Linked DNA regions of Homo sapiens: region 1 is linked to region 2. Evidence: promoter capture Hi-C in human tissues and cell types (Jung and others, 2019). All regions are on one chromosome and are shown on one strand. Each heading gives the region's core, a stretch centred on a gene start or on the middle of the fragment in contact. The rest is flanking DNA. Distances are from core to core; before and after follow the strand shown.

The links. The method cuts DNA at HindIII sites, captures the fragments that hold promoters and counts their contacts. A contact is called where the count stands out against the background at its distance.
Region 1: the fragment with the promoter of ZNF264 here is called in contact with a fragment that was not itself captured in region 2 in 3 of the 25 tissues and cell types used here (adrenal gland, dorsolateral prefrontal cortex and thymus).

The regions. Positions count from the first base shown.
Region 1 is chr19:57,189,933-57,193,271 of GRCh38, reverse strand. It overlaps ZNF264 (zinc finger protein 264), which reads right to left and starts at 1,772. Exons shown (of 4, transcript NM_003417.5): 1 at 1,326-1,772. The coding sequence starts at 1,358. RefSeq lists a silencer at 1,257-1,526 and enhancers at 1,697-1,756, 1,767-1,856, 1,877-1,936. The HindIII fragment of the contact is 13,408 bases long and covers 1-3,339 here.
Region 2 is chr19:57,383,129-57,386,316 of GRCh38, reverse strand. No RefSeq gene overlaps it. Among named protein-coding and RNA genes, the nearest start is that of ZNF548, 5.1 kb to the left of the region's middle. The HindIII fragment of the contact is 6,124 bases long and covers 1-3,188 here.

The sequences.
Region 1 (3,339 bases), core at 523-3,022, 190 kb after region 2:
CACCATCATCACCTTCACAGTCAATGACTTCATGCTAAGGAAGCGCTATCAATTCACCCAGTCACACATCTCACCACCATAGATAGGATCTAAACATGGGGTTACTATGATTCACGGTCTAACAGTGTAACTCCAACACTCCCCCAACATCAAAGCAAATCTAATGCGATGAAGTTATAAGCATTTCCACTCATTTCTAACATTAAGTCTATTTCAATTAGCCCTGAAAAACGTATCTGTGGGCCGGGCATGGTGGCTCATGCATGTAATCCCAGCACTTTGGGAGGTCGAGGTGGGCGGATCGCTTGAGGCCAGGAGTTGAAGACCAGCCTGGCAAATATGGTGAAACCCAGTCTCTACTAAAATACAAAAATCAGTCAGGTGTGGTAGTGCATGCCTGTAATCCCAACTACTCGGCAGGCTGGGGCAGGAGAATTGCTTGAACCTGGGAGGCAGAGACTGCAGTGAGCTGAGAGTGCACCACTGTACTCCAGCCTGGGCGACAGAGTGAGACCCTGTCTCAAAACAAAAAAAAGTATGTGAACACGGGCACAAAAAGCTCAGCATTCCTCACTGACCCCACAGAGCGGCACTGGAAGGGCTGCATCTACTTGGGGAACGACAGGCTCCAGACCAGCTTCCCATGCCCTCTGGGATCTCCCTGGGTCTCCCAGATCCCCCAAGGAAATTCCACAATGAACCAACCATCGGCCTCTTTCCTTACTGGGTTCCGACAGAACTTGTCTCTGACGCCAGGATACTTTGGGGCCACGGAACACGAGCGGCCAAGGATAATGCAGGCTGTAGCGATGAGAGTAAGGGCATCTGACTGGCCACAATGTCTGCAGTAGTTGCGGATGGCTAGAACATCCAGGAAAAGACCACACACTGTTGCCCTCCACGTCTCAGCGGCCGCAGGAAAACCATGGCAACCTTACACACCCTCCTGAGCCTCCTTAAACATACAACATACCTTGTCTCTGCTCGCGCATTTGTCGGCTTGCTACTGCCCTGCCCTCCCCTTCCCCCCTCAGGCCCCCAATTCATGCTGGAATGAGACCTGGTCCACCAGAGAATGCTTGCAGGCCAAGGATGATGGGAGTCCCCAGAGGAAGCATCATTCACTCAACAACCTACGGAGCTCCTTCCAGTAGGCCCAACACTCCTTACGGCCAGGTATAAATTAAGTGGCAAACCAGCTCCACACACCAAAGCGAACGACGACTGCGAAGACAAATCCAGGGGATACCTGGGCTCCCACCCACTTCGGAAACCGCCTCAGCGCTGGCAAGGAAGCGGCAACCGCGAAGCCACCGTCCACTCACCTGGGCCCGGTCCGTCAGCACCGCTGCCGCCATCACGTCACCCCCTGGGCCGCAGAGCTGGGACAGAGGAGCCCCGGGCGGCCTGACGGACCCCACCTGTGCCCGACCCTGGCCGGTTGCCCGGGGCTTCCAGGCGCGCTCGGGGCCGCCGCCTCCTCGGTGGCAACGGCGTTCCAGACGCAGGGCCGCCGCCTCCTCGGTGGCAACCGCGTTCCAGACCCAGGGCGCCGCCCCTGGAGACCGCGGGGCTGAAGGGCGGGGGAGGAGAGACCGCAGCTTGACGGCGACCCAGGAACAAACCCACGGAAGGGGTCAGGCTCGTACAAAGGTGCGGCGGGGATTCCTATCCTACTCCCCTGCTCGGTCCTGACTAGGGACCTGCAAAGCGGCCCCGACCGGGGCCCTCAGTGGCTACAGACCTCTCCAGACAGAAGTGCAGAAGAAAATGGCGTCCGCAGCGAGCAACCCGGAAGTCCCGCCCCCACCGGCGTGAGCCGTCGGAAACGTCCCCGTCCTAGGCCGTCGTTGGCCCAGCTCCCGCCGTACGCATAATGCACAGCCTTCTAAGTAGTGTAGTTTTCCTCATGTGTTCAACAACGGGAGGAACGCTTCACGGCGCAAGTTTTCCTCCCAGGGAAAGGCACTCCAGGACCCGAGGAGACGCTCCAGACCCACCTCTTTACGGTGGGCACAACTCGAGGGGAAGGATGGAGGGAGGGAACCGAGGGGCAAGGGTTACATTGCATTCTTCTCTCGGGAAAATCGGAGCTCGGGAGACAGGGACTTTCCTTCAGGTCAGGGCACAGGCAAAGGCGCAGAACTGGGTCCTCAGCTCGCCTGGCGACTGACCCCCTTTCACATCCCTCCTCCCCGGATCATCATCTTGGAAGACACAAAAAAGCCGAATGATCATCTGGAAGCCCTGCCCCGACACGTTGTGTGCGCAAACTGCCCTCTTTTGAGCCTTCTTTGGACCAGCACAGCCTCTACGTGATGCAGGGAGTCATGTATTTGGCCCAGACCACACAAAAAGTGGATTTGCCCACTTCTGAGGTGGGGAGGCTGCAAGTGGAGGAGGTTCGGAGGCTCAGGATGGTTAGTTTGAAATGTCTACAGAACCACAAAGTATCTCTGTCACAGGCAATTCGACTTACGACTGAATGTTGGAAGAAGGTTTGAGCATGAATATATGAATTTAGGAGTTACCTTACACTGTTATTTCAAGTCATGATATTGAGTGAGACCATCAAGGCAATGCATGTAGATGGAGAAGAAAATACACAGAGCATGAGCCGGGGACCAAGTCTACATCATTAAATGGTTGATGACAATATTACCAGAAAGGCCAGGTCCTTGCATCTAGATCCTGCTGCTTGCTGCACAGAAGGCCAGTCAGCAAGACAATGAGTATTGTCAGGGATGAAGGCTTTATTCGGTGCTGCAGCTGAGGAAAATGGGAGATCAATCTCAAATCTCTTTCCTCAACTGACTAAAACTAGGGGTTTATACATCAGGGAAGAAGTGTAACTATGTTTGAGAAAACAGGAATTAGGAAGGGGTAAGGAAGAGGAATGGGTCAACAGGCAGCAGATGGTCAGTTAGGCAATCATCATGGGTAAGGGGTATAGCATCTCGTTTTTCCAGATGTGGTAATCCAGTAAGTTTCAGTTTCTTTATACTATCTGGGAGGCCTGATGCTTGGTTTCCTGAGAAAGGAAATCAGATAAGACAAATAAAAGTGTCTCGAGTTTTAGGAAGGGGAGGCTCAATGTCTATAATGTGTTGATTCAAAAGAAACCATAAATATCAGTTCTATGGGACACTGGAGCTGGTTTCAGTTCCCTGTTTCTATTTATCAATTCCTCAATCATGGGGAATCTGGACGTGATCTTTCTGGCTGCTTTATGCTGAGGAGGGGTATTGTGGGTGGCTGCATACCATAGATGACCACGTGGCCACTCAGATTAACTCAAAGGTTAATCTAACGCTATAGTTTTCTTTCTTTCTTTCTTTT
Region 2 (3,188 bases), core at 89-2,588:
TTTTCCCTTGAGATATCAAAATCTATTTATTCTTTTTTTTTTTTTTGAGACGGAGTCTCACTCTGTCGCTGGGCTGGAGTGCAGTGGTGTGATCTCGGCTCACTGCAACCTCCGCCTCTCCGGTTCAAGTGATTCTCCTGCCTCAGACTCTCAAGTAGCTGGAACTACATATGCACGCCACCACGCCCAGTTAATTTTTTTGTATTTTTAGTAGAGACGGGATTTCACCATGTTGGCCAGGATGGTCTCGATCTCTTGACCTCATGATCCGCCTGCCTCGGCCTCCCAAAGTGCTGGGATTACAGGCATGAGCCACCACGCCTGGCCCCATTTATTCTTAATTGAATATAAATTATTACTTATATTTTAATTATATGAATATAATTTAAAAGTTTGCAAGCTTTCAATGGTTCCATCTGTTTGTAATTAGTTATGAGTTTGGATATGAAATGGTAGACTAACTGACCCAGACATACATTGTAAAATCCAACGTTTTCTCCAGTGTTTTCTTTTTTCTTTCTTTTCTTTTTTTTTTTTAAGATACAGTTTCACTCTGTCACCCAGCTGGAGTGCAGTGGCGCAATCTCGGCTCACTGCAACCTCTGGCTCCCAGGTTCAAGTGATTCTCATGCCTCAGCCTCCCAAGTAGCTGGGATTACAGGCGCGTGGCACCATGCCTGGCTAATTTTTTGTATTTCTATTAGAGATGGGGTTTCGCCATGTTGGCCATACTGGTCTCGAACTCCTGACCTCAAGTGATCTGTCCGCCTAGGCCTCCCAAAGTGCTGCGATTACAGGCATGAGCCACTGTACCCACAATGTTTTTCAACTCTTGTAGAAGTTGCTATTGTCTATATTTTGAGTATATTGAATGCAAAAAATGTCAAAATGCAAGTTTATAATTTATGATGAACTGAGGAGTATTTAAAATTCCCTTTGAAGGTCTTCGACTCTATGTAATTGCCCATTGACTAATGAAAATGGTGGACAGTCAAATATATATTAACTTTGGAAGGTGCATGATTTTCTCAACTAGTTCCAAAGAAAGAGACAAAATAACTTTTTTGTTAAAATCAGATGGAGATGGTAGAATAATTATAATAGAGTTTGTAATGTTTTCTACACTGTTTATCATCATGAGTCTTTAGGCTCAGAATGCTACTGTTGAGTGTGTTTCTCATTAATGAATGTCCAATAGATAAAGGAATGAAATAAGTTGAATATGACAAATGACGAAGGTTTGTCACAACATAAATGGCATCAAGACTGTAACTGCAGGAATTCTGTAAGCAAATTATATAAAACAAGGAATTGTTAAGTAGAAGCAAATTATCAGGGAAAGAGTTATGTCATTAGAACTGTGATCCCCAAGCTTTTTAGTACCAGGGACCGGTTTTGTGGAAGACAATTTTTCCATGGATAAGGGAGAGGGGTTTGGGGGCAGATGGTTTCAGAGGCATTAGATTCTCATAAGGAGCATACAACCTAGATCCCTCTCTTGTGCAGTTCACAGTAGGGTTTGCACCCCTATGAGAATCTAATGCTGCTGCCGATCTGACAGGAGGCGGAGATCAGGCAGCAATGCTCACTCATCTGCCACTCACCCTCTGCTATATGGCCCCATTCCTAACAGGCCATAGTACTCATCTGTGGCCCCAGGGGTTGGGGACCCCTGATTTAGAATGTATTTCAGATAAACAACAAATAATTTTATGATGAGTATGTCACATACAATATTTATCTTTTATCTCACTGCACATATACATAGGGAATTAGAAATAATTCAAATTTAACCAGGTCAAGTATCAGTTACAAAATTTGACAATTCTTTTCATCGTAATTTTTTTCTGAACCTATGCATTATATTGAGCATCCTCATTTTTGAACCTAGTAACTCATTCACAGAATTTCTGCTACCCTTCTTCTTTTTTCTTTTTTTCTTTTTTTTTTTTTGAGACAGAATCTTGCTCTGTCACCCAGGCTGGAGTGCATTGGCGCGATCTCAGCTCACTGCAACCTCTGCCTCCCGGCTTCAAGCGATTCTTCTGCCTCAGCCTCCTGAATAGCTGAGATTATAGGCGCCCGCCACCATGCCCGGCTAATTTTTTTTTTTGCCCTGTCGCCCAGGCTGGAGTGCAATGGCATGATCTCAGCCCACTGCAACCCCCTCTTCCCGGGTTAAAGCAATTCTCCTGCCTCAGCCTCCCGAGTAGCTGTGATTACAGGCACGCACCACCACGCACAGCTAATTTTTTGTATCTTTAGTAGAGATAGGGTTTCACCATGTTGGCCAGGCTGGTCTCGAACTCCTGACCTTATGATCTGCCTGCCTCGGCCTCCCAAAGTGCTGGGATTACAGGCTTGAGCCACTGTGTCTGGCCACTTCTTCTTAATTGTAAATTCTGCTGGTTGGGGGCCCTTTGTTCCAAGGAAGGAGAGGTTCCACCAGAAGTAAATATTATTACATTTAATTGAAGGGTGATACAGCTACTTGTTCATCTGGGGATCCTTGTGTCACTTAAGCAAGAAGGGATTGCTTTTTTGCTTTGGATGAGTTAGGCTGAGTTGCTGCCATGGAATGGGAAGCATAGAGAGTTATGTCTGAGACCAGGGGATTTCTGGGGGATGTTTTGGTAAGTTCATGTTCAGAAATAAAACTAGCAACTCATCGAAGGGAGGACTTCTAAGAATCAGAAGTTTAGGTTTTGATATTTGGGGACATCCTCCAGGTTAAAAAACAAACAAAACCAAAATGCTACCCAGCTGAAGATCCGGCAGAGGCAGAAGAATGGGATGGTGGGGGGAGGGGGGAGCGGGGAGGAGAATGAAAAATCAATTTTCAACCTAAGACCAGTTAAGAAAACAAGAAATCTCAATATTATAGCTATCTTCCTTGTTTACATGTAAGAAATTGACTATAGAAATCAACAATGGCCAAGCCAAATATAAAACAGAACTCTAACCCACTACTGCACTGACCAGCTCAGGAAGCCAACCTGCTATCTACACTAACCAGATGAGGAAATCTCTCTCCCTCTCTCTCTCTCTCTCTCTCTCTCTCTCACTCAAGAGTTTTAAGAGGACAGATTTATCTCAGGTCTAAAATTCTGCCTTCTTTTGTAGTGCATTACCTGATATCATTGGTTTTGGGGGGTACCAGAGATTACTTTGTCCTGTGAAAGAACTTG